Regions from separate parts of the Homo sapiens genome. Here region 2 is linked to region 1. Evidence: promoter capture Hi-C in 16 types of primary human blood cells and fetal thymus (Javierre and others, 2016). All regions are on one chromosome and are shown on one strand. Each heading gives the region's core, a stretch centred on a gene start or on the middle of the fragment in contact. The rest is flanking DNA. Distances are from core to core; before and after follow the strand shown.

The links. Contacts are between HindIII fragments. The CHiCAGO score rates a contact against its expected background, and 5 or more counts as called.
Region 2: a fragment that was not itself captured here is called in contact with the fragment with the promoter of SOCS3 in region 1 in 12 of 17 cell types (activated CD4 T cells, naive CD4 T cells, endothelial precursors and 9 more); the score reaches 10.5 in activated CD4 T cells.

The regions. Positions count from the first base shown.
Region 1 is chr17:78,353,929-78,361,326 of GRCh38, reverse strand. SOCS3 (suppressor of cytokine signaling 3) reads left to right here and starts at 1,250. Exons shown (of 2, transcript NM_003955.5): 1 at 1,250-1,577; 2 at 2,144-4,549. The coding sequence starts at 2,232. The coding sequence ends at 2,909. It overlaps SOCS3-DT (SOCS3 divergent transcript), which reads right to left and starts at 879. Exons shown (of 5, transcript NR_110847.1): 1 at 554-879. RefSeq lists silencers at 349-398, 629-828, 889-1,198, 1,209-1,488, 1,899-2,138 and 1 more and enhancers at 1,246-1,894, 3,841-4,490, 4,548-5,047, 5,873-5,922, 6,246-6,747. The HindIII fragment of the contact is 6,903 bases long and covers 1-4,860 here.
Region 2 is chr17:78,289,083-78,296,480 of GRCh38, reverse strand. No RefSeq gene overlaps it. Among named protein-coding and RNA genes, the nearest start is that of LINC01993, 14 kb to the right of the region's middle. RefSeq lists a silencer at 4,481-4,750. The HindIII fragment of the contact is 5,870 bases long and covers 1-4,646 here.

The sequences.
Region 1 (7,398 bases), core at 1-2,500:
CAAACTATCTACGTCAGTGCCAACGTGACCAGCAGCAAACCAATCTTTCACCTCAATCACTTCCTCTCCTCCCCTCTACCCCCTCCCCGCCAGTGATCAAGTCCTCCCCCACCCCAAGAGAGGCAGGGGGTCACATTCCAGGGGGTGTGGGCCATCTGGCAGTAGCCTGAACCCCGGAAAACTGCTTTCCGGAAATTCTCTCCTGCTAGAATTTTATTCCCAGGTCTGACCCCAGCCTGGGGTGTGAATGCCCCCTTCTCGGCCACCTTTCCAGCTCCGGAGACAGCCATTCCCGCAGATCCCTGGCGTGCCTATTCCAAGGCCTGGGCCGCGCAGCACCAAACTGCCCTCCCCTAGGAGACCCCAGGGCGCCCTCTGGCGGACGCGGGCCGTAGGTTGGGGCCATCGTTCCACCTCGAGCTCTCCAGCCCGGCCGAGAGCACCTGGCCCAACCCACACCGGACCAACCAGGTTTGCAGACCCCAGTGCATGAAAGCGTTTTCATAGGGGAGGGGAGGGGGGCTCCACACTCGCGTCAGGGTTGGCAAAGAACCTGGCAGTGGGCCGAGGCTGGGTAGCTGCCACGAAGGGGCGTCCCCTGCAGCCCTGGGTCTCCCCTCTGGAATCTGCCCGCAGGTGACTGTCGCACGTCTCCAACCTCCGGCTCCCGGGTCTGACCCCAGCCCCGCTGCCTGGCTGTGGGGTAGCCCCACTTCCCTTTCGGCTGGCCCGGGCCGCCTGACCCGCAGTTGGGCCCTCGGGGAGGCCCGGGTGGCGGCGAGGGGGTGTCCCCGCGGGGTCCGGGAAAAGGGGAAGGGGAACCGGGAGGCTCTCCAGGTCGGCCTCCTAGAACTGCCCGCTCTCCCGAAGCGGCGCCCCCGCCTCTGCCAGAAATCAGCCTTCTTAGAAGGGAGGGGGGTGGGGGGAAAGTGTGAATGAGAAGTTGGGGGCGGAGCGCGCGGCGGGGAGGGGCCGCTGCCAGGAACGCGCCGCCGGGGCTGGCGCCGCGCCCACCGGCCGCCTCGGCCGCCTCTCGTCGCGCTTTGTCTCCGCGCGCGTCCCTCCCGGTCCCTGCCCCTGCTCGCGGCCCGCCCTCGGCGCCCGCGGCCCCTCCCTCACCCTCCGCGCTCAGCCTTTCTCTGCTGCGAGTAGTGACTAAACATTACAAGAAGGCCGGCCGCGCAGTTCCAGGAATCGGGGGGCGGGGCGCGGCGGCCGCCTATATACCCGCGAGCGCGGCCTCCGCGGCGGCTCCGACTTGGACTCCCTGCTCCGCTGCTGCCGCTTCGGCCCCGCACGCAGCCAGCCGCCAGCCGCCCGCCCGGCCCAGCTCCCGCCGCGGCCCCTTGCCGCGGTCCCTCTCCTGGTCCCCTCCCGGTTGGTCCGGGGGTGCGCAGGGGGCAGGGCGGGCGCCCAGGGGAAGCTCGAGGGACGCGCGCGCGAAGGCTCCTTTGTGGACTTCACGGCCGCCAACATCTGGGCGCAGCGCGGGCCACCGCTGGCCGTCTCGCCGCCGCGTCGCCTTGGGGACCCGAGGGGGCTCAGCCCCAAGGACGGAGACTTCGATTCGGGACCAGGTAGGAAGGAGGAGCGCGGCGTGGGGAGGGGTCTCGCTCAGTCCCGGGAGCTTTTCCCGGTTTCCCCTCCCCTTCCCGGGTCATTCCCGGCAGGGAGGTGACGAGGTAGGGGCAGAGCGGATGGAAGCCGGAGATCCCAGGTTCCCGGAATACTCCGGCTGGGGCCTTCGGGCTTCTCCTGTCCCCTCCCTACCCCCGTGCCTCGGGTTTCTCCCTCCGTCCACACCGCCCGGGGCTACTGGACTGAGCGGCGCCCAGGCAGTCCCGGGGGCCCTTCTCCTGCTCCCCACCCGGCCACACTCCTGGAGACCTAACTTCCGCGCGCGAGTTTCCCACGCTGCGCCCTTGCAGTGCGCGCCTGGGAAGGGGCTGCCCGGGGCCACCCTGCCGGCAGGGGCGGGAGCCGTGCGGGCTCCGTGAGGCGCCTGGATCGGAGCGCGGGCCCAGGAGAGGGCCCCCGGGGCAGTGGGTGCCCCAGTCGCTCGGCGAAGGCAGGGGAGCCGGGGCGGGCCGGGCGCGCTGGAGGGTTCCGGGCACTCAACGCGCTCGCGCCTTCCTCTCCGCAGCCCCCCGGGATGCGGTAGCGGCCGCTGTGCGGAGGCCGCGAAGCAGCTGCAGCCGCCGCCGCGCAGATCCACGCTGGCTCCGTGCGCCATGGTCACCCACAGCAAGTTTCCCGCCGCCGGGATGAGCCGCCCCCTGGACACCAGCCTGCGCCTCAAGACCTTCAGCTCCAAGAGCGAGTACCAGCTGGTGGTGAACGCAGTGCGCAAGCTGCAGGAGAGCGGCTTCTACTGGAGCGCAGTGACCGGCGGCGAGGCGAACCTGCTGCTCAGTGCCGAGCCCGCCGGCACCTTTCTGATCCGCGACAGCTCGGACCAGCGCCACTTCTTCACGCTCAGCGTCAAGACCCAGTCTGGGACCAAGAACCTGCGCATCCAGTGTGAGGGGGGCAGCTTCTCTCTGCAGAGCGATCCCCGGAGCACGCAGCCCGTGCCCCGCTTCGACTGCGTGCTCAAGCTGGTGCACCACTACATGCCGCCCCCTGGAGCCCCCTCCTTCCCCTCGCCACCTACTGAACCCTCCTCCGAGGTGCCCGAGCAGCCGTCTGCCCAGCCACTCCCTGGGAGTCCCCCCAGAAGAGCCTATTACATCTACTCCGGGGGCGAGAAGATCCCCCTGGTGTTGAGCCGGCCCCTCTCCTCCAACGTGGCCACTCTTCAGCATCTCTGTCGGAAGACCGTCAACGGCCACCTGGACTCCTATGAGAAAGTCACCCAGCTGCCGGGGCCCATTCGGGAGTTCCTGGACCAGTACGATGCCCCGCTTTAAGGGGTAAAGGGCGCAAAGGGCATGGGTCGGGAGAGGGGACGCAGGCCCCTCTCCTCCGTGGCACATGGCACAAGCACAAGAAGCCAACCAGGAGAGAGTCCTGTAGCTCTGGGGGGAAAGAGGGCGGACAGGCCCCTCCCTCTGCCCTCTCCCTGCAGAATGTGGCAGGCGGACCTGGAATGTGTTGGAGGGAAGGGGGAGTACCACCTGAGTCTCCAGCTTCTCCGGAGGAGCCAGCTGTCCTGGTGGGACGATAGCAACCACAAGTGGATTCTCCTTCAATTCCTCAGCTTCCCCTCTGCCTCCAAACAGGGGACACTTCGGGAATGCTGAACTAATGAGAACTGCCAGGGAATCTTCAAACTTTCCAACGGAACTTGTTTGCTCTTTGATTTGGTTTAAACCTGAGCTGGTTGTGGAGCCTGGGAAAGGTGGAAGAGAGAGAGGTCCTGAGGGCCCCAGGGCTGCGGGCTGGCGAAGGAAATGGTCACACCCCCCGCCCACCCCAGGCGAGGATCCTGGTGACATGCTCCTCTCCCTGGCTCCGGGGAGAAGGGCTTGGGGTGACCTGAAGGGAACCATCCTGGTACCCCACATCCTCTCCTCCGGGACAGTCACCGAAAACACAGGTTCCAAAGTCTACCTGGTGCCTGAGAGCCCAGGGCCCTTCCTCCGTTTTAAGGGGGAAGCAACATTTGGAGGGGATGGATGGGCTGGTCAGCTGGTCTCCTTTTCCTACTCATACTATACCTTCCTGTACCTGGGTGGATGGAGCGGGAGGATGGAGGAGACGGGACATCTTTCACCTCAGGCTCCTGGTAGAGAAGACAGGGGATTCTACTCTGTGCCTCCTGACTATGTCTGGCTAAGAGATTCGCCTTAAATGCTCCCTGTCCCATGGAGAGGGACCCAGCATAGGAAAGCCACATACTCAGCCTGGATGGGTGGAGAGGCTGAGGGACTCACTGGAGGGCACCAAGCCAGCCCACAGCCAGGGAAGTGGGGAGGGGGGGCGGAAACCCATGCCTCCCAGCTGAGCACTGGGAATGTCAGCCCAGTAAGTATTGGCCAGTCAGGCGCCTCGTGGTCAGAGCAGAGCCACCAGGTCCCACTGCCCCGAGCCCTGCACAGCCCTCCCTCCTGCCTGGGTGGGGGAGGCTGGAGGTCATTGGAGAGGCTGGACTGCTGCCACCCCGGGTGCTCCCGCTCTGCCATAGCACTGATCAGTGACAATTTACAGGAATGTAGCAGCGATGGAATTACCTGGAACAGTTTTTTGTTTTTGTTTTTGTTTTTGTTTTTGTGGGGGGGGGCAACTAAACAAACACAAAGTATTCTGTGTCAGGTATTGGGCTGGACAGGGCAGTTGTGTGTTGGGGTGGTTTTTTTCTCTATTTTTTTGTTTGTTTCTTGTTTTTTAATAATGTTTACAATCTGCCTCAATCACTCTGTCTTTTATAAAGATTCCACCTCCAGTCCTCTCTCCTCCCCCCTACTCAGGCCCTTGAGGCTATTAGGAGATGCTTGAAGAACTCAACAAAATCCCAATCCAAGTCAAACTTTGCACATATTTATATTTATATTCAGAAAAGAAACATTTCAGTAATTTATAATAAAGAGCACTATTTTTTAATGAAAAACATGACTTGAGCCTTTTCTGCACCCCTGCCCCCCCGCCCCCCGCCCCGTGCCTTGCTTTCTCTTTCACCCACACCCACACTCTGCATCGGAGAGGAGGAAGAGAGCCGCAGAGGGTGGAATCGAATACGTCTCAGCCTTACGTCAGCACGCCTGCCTCGTGTGTCACTGACAAGCTAAGGCAGCCACCTAGACTTACCGAGAGGGGTAATTCCTGCAAGTCTGATTCAGATCTGACCAGAATATGCAAAGCAAGTTCGAAGGAAGCGCTTCAAAGGGCTTGCAGGGAGCAAGCTGAGCTGTGGTCAAAGCTTTTAGAGGCTCCAGGCTATTAGAGGCGCTCTGGTTCCTTGGCAGGGAGTCGTTCCGAGAAAGCCCAGACATGGGGTCCTAGTGGTGACCTATGACCTCAGTCTAGCCAGGTTCACTGGAAGTGGGGGGAGGGGTGGTCCTGAAGCAAATCTTGCATGCAGGTGGAGCCCCACCCCCTCCCCCACCACAGGACCCCAGGCATTCAGGGGCTTCCTGGCCACTGCTCCCCATGCCTGCTTCCCTTCCCCGTTCCTAGGGGCCCCAACCTGAGCAGCGGACAGGATCACCCTCCTCCCAAAAAGCACCCATCTATTCATCTCTCTCTTTTTTTGAAACAGGGTTCGCTATGTTGCCCAGGCTGGTCTCCAGCTCCCGGGCTGAAGGTATCCTCCCCTCAGCCCATCTATTTTTAGTCACTCTCATTTAAACACTAAGGGGCACTTAGAGGTTACCTGGATTAAGCATCCCACCTGCTCCCACAAGGCAGGCATTCTCATCCCCATGTTCTCAGACATGGCCACGTGCCCCATGTGAGCCAGGACTTGGACTGGTCACTTCTGGTGCCTAGATTGGTGCTCAGTAAATATTTGTCAACTAAGTAGGGGCAGCAACTCAGGTTCAGGGAGGTTAAGCAACCTGGCCAAGGGCACACCACTTGGGAATATGGGGAAAACAGGATTGGAACCCAGGAGCATTTGATTTCCAAAGCCCATGCCTCTCTGCCTCTCTATACACTCAGCATATACCTGCCCCCGGAGTGAGTCCCTCCTTAAAAGCCAAGAGGTTAGTACCCTTCCCCCCAACTCTGGGGTTTCAGCACTAGGGTTCTTCTAATAGCAAAAAACGTCTTCTCTCCTGTAATCCAGCACTTTGGGAGGTCGAGGTGGGCTAAGGGCTGGAGCCCAGAAGTTCAAGACCAGCCTGGGCAATATAGCGAGACCCTGTCTCCATTTAAAAAACAGAAACCAAAAACAAAAACAAAACCACCTTCTCTGAGGTATTCTCCTTTCATGCCTCCTTCTCTGATCCCCGTGACCTGACAGCTGGGAAATGAGTGTTAACCCCAAGTCAGGGGCCCTTATCTCTCTCAGATGACACAAATACCAGAGCCTCTTCCTGGCCCCCTTGCACCCAATATACTGCTCCAGGAATCGGGGTCCAAAAGGCAACAGAGAGTAAATAAACAAAGTCGTTTTTCTTTCCTATTTCCTGGGACTTTTGGAGAAAATGACCTGAAGTGACGAGAAGGGGCCAGGCCAGGCACGAGGCGGCTGAGGGGACAGAGCATATGGGAGCCACACCACAGGCATCATGAAGGAACTCCAGACTGGCAATGTAAACCCAGGTAGGGCCACCTTCCCAAAGCACAAGTGCAGGTGAGGGGGCCCAGTGGGGTGTGGCTCCCCAGTGCCTTCCAGAAGGATGATGAGTCTTCCTCGCCCTGGGGTCTGCTGGTCAGCCACCACTGCCTTCAGCTGCACAGAGTTCCCCTTTCACTGGAATAACAGCCATGAGGGAACCGTGAACCTGGGGTCCTTGTACTTTTTTGTTTTTTGAGACAGGGTCTCACTCTGTCACCCAGGTTGGAGTGCAGTGGCGCTATTATAGCTCACTGCAGGTTTGAACTCCCGGGTTTGGGTAAACCTCCCACGTCTGGGTAATCCTCCCACGTCAGCCTCCTGAGTAGCTGGGACTACAGGCACATTATCACCACGGCCAGTTATTTTTAATTTTTAATTTTTTTTTTGTATATTTCGTAGAGACAGGGTCTCGCCATGTTGCCCAGGCTGGTCTCGAACTCCTGAACTCAAGCAATCTGCCAGCCTCAGCCTCCCAAAGTGCTGGGATTACAGGCATGAGCCACTGTGCCCAGCCACTGGGTCCCTGTGCTTGACCCAGAAGGCAGCTGTTTAGCCAGGTTGTCCAGTGTTCACAGAATGCTAGCAAAAGAATTTGATCTTCTCTGGCCAGGGAGGAAGTAGTTCTCCCTGCCCACCCCAGGGAGGTTGAAACTTGGTTTTGTGGAGTTGCAAAGGCAAGAAGACTCATTTCCCTCCTCCAGACCACTGCCCATCCCAACCTTCCTCTGTCTTTCCACTTCTTCTTCTTCTTCTTTTTTTTTTTTTTTTTTTCAGATAGGGTCTAGCTCTGTCACCCAGGCTGGAGTGCAGTGGCAGGATCACAACTCACTGCAGCCTCAACTGCCAGAATACAAGCGATCCTCCCACCTCAGCCTCTTGAGTAGGTGGGACTACAGGCACACACCACCACACCTGGCTAAATTTTGTACTACTTGTAGAGATGGGATCTTGCTATGTTGCCCAGGCTGGTCTCTAACTCCCAAGCTCAAGCAATCCGCCCACCTCGTCCTCTTAAAGCGCTGGGATTTCATGCGTGAGCCACCGCGCCTGGTGTGTCTTTCCATTTCAGATCAGACTGGACCAACCCTTTGGGTTTGCAGACAAGGAAACCGAGACCCAGAGAAGGGAAGCAACATGCTCAAGCCCACACAACAAGCTGCTGGGAAGGCCAGGAAAGA
Region 2 (7,398 bases), core at 462-2,961, 65 kb after region 1:
AGTCGGGAGGCAGAGGTTGCGGTGAGGCGAGATTGTGCCCCTGCACTCCAGCCTGGGCAACAGAGTGAGACTGTCTCAAAAAAAGAGGCTCCACCCAAGAAGCCAGAGGGACCCCCAGAGGGAGGTTTCCATGCCAGCAGAGGTGGGGTGGCAGAGGGCAGTGCTTGGGTGGTGCAGCTTGCTGGGTGCTAAGAAGACCTCCCTGCCTGGCTCCAGGCCCGGCTCAGAGCCCACCTTCTCCTCCAGGTGGTAGCTCCTCTTCACCTCTCCCTTTTCTGTGTCACTTGAATATTTTAATGCCTGGGGGAGGTTTTGTGCTTTCCAAGGAAGACTTAGTGACTTGAATTTGAATTGAGTCAAGGCTGGCCACGGTGGCTCATACCTGTAATCCCAGCACTTTGGGAGGCCGAGGTGGGAGGATTGCTGGAGCCCAGGAGTTTGAGACCAGCCTGGACAAAATAGTAAGACCCTATCGACAAAAAAAAGAATTGAAAATTATCTGGGTGTGGTGGTGCGTGCCTGTAGTCCCAGCTACTTGGGAGGCTGAGGTGGGAGGATTGCTTGAGCCCAGGAGTTTGAGATTAGCCTGGACAATTTAGTGAGACCTCTCACTAAGTCATCTCGCTAAAAATTTTTTTTAAAAAATTAGTCGGGCATGGTGGCATGCACCTGTAGTCTAAGCACTTTGAGAGACTGAGGTAGGAGGATTGCTTGAGCCTGGGAGGTTGAGGCTGCAGTGAGCCATGATTACAGCACTGCACTCCAGCCTGGGCAACAGAGTCTAGTCTCAAAAAAAAAAAGAGTCAATATATCAAGTGTAAAAGTTGTCAATATTAAAACCTACCTTTACTTAGACCTTGCATTCCAAAATCCAACAAGTTTTAGCATTCTCTTTATAAATCTAATTTTAATATGAAAACACAATCACTTTCACTTGGGCTATGCTCAATTAACTCATACATTTAACACACTGATTACTTCTTATGCATTTAACCACACTGACCTTTTTTTCTTTTTTTTTGAGACGGAGTCTTGCTATGTTGCCCAGGCTGGAGTGCAGTGGCGTGATCTCGGCTCACTGCAACCTCCGCCTCCTGGGTTCACGCCATTCTCTTGCCTCAGCCTCCCGAGTAGCTGGGACTACAGGTGCCCACCACCACGCCGGCTAATTTTTTGTATTTTTGGTTGAGACGGGGTTTACACTGTGTTAGCCAGGATGGTCTCGATCTCCTGACCTCGTGATCCGCCCGCCTCGGCCTCCCAAAGTGCTGGGATTACAGGTGTGAGCCACCGCGCCCGGCCTCACACTGACCTTCTTAAATAACACAAGAGCCTCGGGAGTACAGATCTAAAATCACACCTTCGATGCTGCTGGAGTCTCCGAAGCACCTGGCCAGGCCGCCTACAAATCAGCATGTGAATTCTTCCAGAACGCGTAGGCAGCTCCTGTAAATTGAGGAAATCAGACTCGTAAAGGCTGTGACTCAGGTTCTCCTCATCATCTCGAACACCATCAAAACAACAATAGAGACACAGAGCAGCATTCACTTCGCGGATGGTTGCAACATAGGAAAAGCAACCACTCACCAGGGCTTTCTTGGATTTCTTGCAAATTACCGTACTCTCTCCGCCCAGGGGTCACCAGCCAGGGCTGCTAAGCACCTAAGATCGCGGGGAGGGTGTTGGCCTGGGATTCCCGGCCAGGATGCAGGACTAGCCTTAGTTCTGGGATATTCTCCCGACTTTAAGGAGGGAGGCCTCTTCCTGTGGTCAGTGGCCATGGCCTGTGAGCCTGGACTTGCGGCCAGGGTAGGATCAACACACAATTCCCCCTTCACCACCATGTCACATGCCCCCAGGCATTGCAGCCGCCAGGGTCTGGGGTCCTCACTCTCGCTTTCCCAGCTGCATCCCACCAGCAACCACAATTGGCCTTGGCGTGTACTCTTCATCCAGACTGCAGCTGCCTCCCTACAGTACTCTGGGGAGTCTGCCCTGCTCTTCATGGTCACACTCTCCACCTGCCTCACTCACCACCGTTCACGGTCATTTATTGGCCCTCCAGGCATGTCCTGGGGACCTCTCAAGCCCTCCCTTGAAACGCTTAACCCATCGGGTTAGGGCCAAGCAGGAGGGGCTTGTGTGGATTTGAAGACCCTCTGGACCAGGGATTCCAGCGATAAGCATAAAGGAACAGGCCTGAAGGCCAGGGTTTGGAGTGCTGTTTTCCTGGGCAGTGATAGCCCAGAATACCAGGGGTCAGGACTTGGGGCACACTGAGTTTGAGCATGACTGACCCTCGGAGGCACTGCCTCATCAGAGACTCACTCAACTAGCCAGGCCCTCCTGCACGGGGAGGGGCCCTGTCCTCTGCAGACTCTCCCTCATGGTCACAAGACACCCTTGGGCAGGCCCAGGCCATGTGCCTCTAGGTCCCAATGCAACAGAAAGGGAACTACTTGGCCGGGTGCAGTGGCTCACGCCCGTAATCACAGCACATTGGCAGGCCTAGGTGGGTGGATCAGCGGAGGTCAGGGGTTCAAGACCAGCCTGGCCAACATGGTGAAACCCCATCTCTACTAAAAATACAAAAATTAGCTGGGTGTAGGCCGGGCACGGTGGCTCACGCCTGTAATCCCAGCACTTTGGGAGGCCGAGGAGGGCAGATCACGAGCTCAGGAGATCGAGACCATCCTGGCCAACATGGTGAAACCCCATCTCTACTAAAAATACTAAAAAATTAGCCAGGCGTGGTGGCGGGCGCCTGTAGTCCCAGCTACTCGGGAGGCTGAGGCTGGAGAATGGCGTGAACCCGGGAGGTGGAGCTTGCAGTGAGCCGAGATTGTGCCACTGCACTCCAGCCTGGGGGACAGAGCCAGACTCCGTCTCAAAAAAAAAAAAAAAAAATTAGCTGGGCGTGGTGGTGTGCGCCTGTAATTGCAGCTACTTGGGAGGCTGAGGCTGGAGAATCACTTGAACCTGGGAGGCGGAGGTTGCAGTGAGCCAAGGTCGTGCCACTGCACTCCAGCCTGGGTGACAAAGCAAGACTCCATCTCAAAAAAAAAAGGAACTACTTGTAGGTAAAGCAACTGAAACCTATTTATAGGGCCATCTGACCCGGGTTGGGACATGTATCCTATATCGTTATAACCAAGGGGGTGAGAGAGTCAGACTGGCTTAGACCAATGAAGGCTCATCCCTGGGGTAAAGTGGATGGTGGAGAAGAAAGTGACAAAAGTTCACTATGAGAGGTGATCTGAATGAGCCCCAAAGTCTATGATTAGAAGCCAAGAGCATGGGGCCAGTCACGGTGGCTCACGCCTGAAATCCCAGCACTTTGGGAGGCCGAGGTGGGTGGATCACTTGAGCCCAGGAGTTCGAGATCAGCCTCGGCAACATGGCAAAACTTCATCTCTACACAAAATACAAGCCAGGCATGGTGGCATGCACCTGTGGTCCCAGTTAGTTGGGAGGTTGAGGTAGGAGGATCACCTGAGCCCAGAAGGTTGAGGTTGTAGTGAGCTGTGATCGTGCCACTGCACTCCAGCCTGAGCGACAGAGTGAGACTTTGTCTCAAAAAAAAAAAAAAAAAAAAAAAGGCAGCCTGGAGGACAGCTGCAGCAGCACCGTGCATCTGTATCCTGGGTGTTTAATAACTGATTGTTGAGGAAGGAAGGAAGGAAGCTGGACACAGAGAGGCAGGTATCCAGCTCTCGCTTCTGGGAGGTTGGTGGAGATGGGCACAGAGCCCAGGGCACCCGGCCAAATCAGGGGCAGGTCCAGCTAGGAGGGTCCCTTCTGAGAGCAGCGGTCCAAGCTCGCTCCTCCCTGGGAGCAAGAAGCCTGGTCAGAAACAGAGACTGAAGCAGGAGGTGAGTCCATGTGAGGCCGTGGCTTGGACACCAACCTGAGATGTTGGAGACATGGAGTGAGGCCCCATGGAGAGGGCAGATGAGGAGGGTGGATTAGGGCTGATCTTGGGAGCTGTTGCCCCCATATCCCTTTGACATTCGCCTTGGCAAACTTTGTAGGCCCGGAGGAGAGTTCTCAAAACACAGTGAGTGTGACCTGAGGGACACAGCCGGACTGGGCTGCAGGTGGGTGGATCCGAGGTGGATGAGACCAGCCCCTGTTGTGTCCTATGCTTAGATCTCGGGGCACTCTTGGGCGGTCTGTAACTGGCAACAGTGTCGCCCCCACGCAGGGAAAGCCGAGTGGGACCCAGGGTGGTCCTTGGGGAGCCCTCCACCCAGGCTCCAGCTCCGGCCTGCCCGCTGGCCAGGACATTACCTGTTCCCAGAACGCCATCTGCCCCAGAGGCCATTCACCCTGGCGGCAGGCTGGGCCAGAAAGCAAGTGCCCAGCCCCAGAGCCAAGAGTGAGGCATGAACGATGCCAGCAGAATGCCACACGTCCTCAACTCGGGCTGCCTGAAGCACAGATACTGTGGCTCCCCTGAGTTGGCCCTTTGACCATGGAGTCCACCGTCCCCAAGGAGGTGCTGGGGACAGAGGCATCGGCTCGGCAGCGTGAGGGTTTCTGTTTGCAGACAGGACGGTGCAACACACAGGTGAGGCTCACACGAGTTTGCCCTGGAGACCCCGCCTGCCTCAGAGAACTGGGGGTGTGGAGAGGCCCAGAAAGCTTCACAGATGTGGGGCTGACCAGCCTGGGGGAGAACCCTGTCTCGGGGGATCCCCACTAGCAATCCAGAGTGGACTGGGTGTGGGCTGAGAGGGGCCACTGCTATGACTGGGAAGCTTGGAGGTCTTCAACTGTCAGTCCCATTTTAGGAGGAGCAACTGACCCAGGGGCTGACTGAGTGTGTGCCCAAGAGAGGAGGGTCTGCCTGTCCGCATTGAGGAAGGCGCCTGCTGATGGGTGTCAGGGGTGCGTCGAGCCCACTCTGCCCGCTCTGTCTCCAGGGACCCTCCCTGCTGCTCTTCAGTCTCCTTCCTCGCTGGGGGCAGATCATGCGGGGCACGGCGCAGGAGGAGAAACTGCAGGGCAGCCGGGCACCATGGCTCACGCCTGTAATCCCTGCACTTTGGGAGGCTGAGGTGGGCGGATCACCTGAGGTCAGGAGTTTGAGACCAGCCTGGCCAACATGGTGAAACCCCATCTCTACTAAAAATACAAAAATTAGCTGGGCGTGGTGGTGGGCGCCTGTAATCCCAGCTACTTGGGAGGCTGAGGCAGGAGAATCACTTGAGCCCAGGAGATGGAGGCTGCAGTGAGCCAAGATCATGCCATTGCACTCCAGCCTGGGCAACAAAAGCGAGACTCCATCTCAAAAAAAAAAGAAAGAAAGAAAAAGAAACTGCAGGGCAGGCCCAGCTGTGACACTGGCAGGGCCCAGTGCAAAATGAAGATGCAGGGCTCCTTGTTAAAAAATCACTAAGAATTTCGAAATGGTGACGGAGATCATTAAACCCAGCACAGCGTGCTCTGAGCATGGGGACCAGTGCACCTCCATAGGTCACACACCCCTGGAGCTGGCCCTGCAGCAGGGAGATTAAGGGGAGTCCGCAGTGAGGTGGCATCTTATCTTTCTAATGGGCATCTTAGGCGCACACACAGTACATACAAAGGCCCTGTGGCCGCATGCCAAGGCTCCTGAGGAGGCCCTGAAGTCTGCCTCCCTCTGCATACAGTGAACCATTAAACCTCTAAACAACCAGAGAAATAGGTGTCATTAGTCCCATCTTACAGAGGAGAAAGCGGGGCTCAGGGAGGTGGAGGGACTTTCCCAAGGACACTCAGCAGGCAGGCGGCAGAGCTGGAACCCAGAGCCAGCCCAGCGGGCTCCAAAGGCTGGCTTGGGCACACTGGCCATACCACAAGGCAGCTCCTTGTCCCAGCAGGCAGGGCTCCTTTGTGCTGTGGAGCCCAGGCCCCAGCCCCCACTCCCTGGGTTCAAATCTCAGCTCTGGAAGTGACTCAGCCTCTCTGAGCCTCAGTTTCTTCCTCTGTAAAGTGGATATTGTATTCATAGGTCCTCCTTTGATAGGATTGCTTCTCGTGATACACGCAGGATGCGAAGAACAGTAGCAGGCACGGAAAAGGCCCCAAATAACATCTTCCATGGATGCCACTGTGGCCTCGCTCGCTGTTCTTCCTGCCGCTGCCGCCCAGCCTGCAGGTCTCTCCCACTTTGGGTAAATAACCCTTCCCCACCTTTGGCAAGCCGGGCCACCTGGCAGTACGTGCAGGGCTCAGGTCACTGCCCACACCCACCCGTGCATGCCCAGGTAGGACACACACACTCTCTCTCACACACACTTACACTCGCACTTACACACACAACACACACACTCATTCACACTTACACTCAACACACAAACACACTCGCACTCACACACAAAACACACACACACTCATTCACACACTCACACTCAACACACACACGCCACTCACACACACACAAAACACATACTCACACACACACATACACTCACACACACTGACACCCCTTAGCCTGGTGTCTTGAGCCAAGTACGAGGCTGCGAAGGTCTCCCTCTAGCGGCCCAGAAAGAGTAGATGCTCACTCAGGCCTGACTTAACTCACTGGAGGAAGCCGCGGGAACTCCTCTGCCCTGGGCTGCAGCCGGATCCTAAGAAGTTCCCGTCCTGGCTGGGGGGTTGGGCATGGTGGCTCACACCTGTAATCCCAGCACTTTGGGAGGCCGAGGCAGGCGGATCATCTGAGGTCGGGAGTTTGAGACCAGCCTGACCAACGTGGAGAAACCCCGTCTCTACTAAAAATACAAAATTAGCTGGGCTTGGTGGTGCACGCCTGTAATCCCAACTACTAGGGAGACTGAGGCAGAAGAATCGCTTGAACCCTGGAAGCAGAGGTTGCAGTAAGCCAAGATCGCACCACTGCACTCCAGCCTGGGCGACAAAAGCGAAACTCCATCTCAAAAAAAAAAAAAAAAAATAGAATCCCAGGTCCCGGCCATGCCTAGACACCCGCCTTCTGTCCCTTCATTCATCTGAGCAGCAGGAGCTGAACACTTGTCAGCAGCAGCCCAGCCCAGAGGCTAGAATCAGAGCCAGTCCCACGTCCAGGACCCGAGGAGGTCCCAAGGCTTTTGGGGGGCCAAACAGAGCTGGCTGAGGGGTGACGAGTAGGAGGTCTCACAGCCCTCAATGTCAGGCACAAGGGGAGAGGCAGGGTAGCCCAGGAAGAAGGACGTGCACAGGCAGGGGCTCCATGCCTTCATGCCTGGGGCTGGGGCAGGATCCGGCTGCAGAGGTGAGGCACACACAGTAGGACTGCAATAATGAATACACAGAGTAGGACTGCAGTAATGAGTGAAGGAATGAGCGCATGAACCGACAGCCTTGCAGGTTTGTTTTTGTTTTTGTTTTGTTTTGTTTTGAGACAGAGTCTTG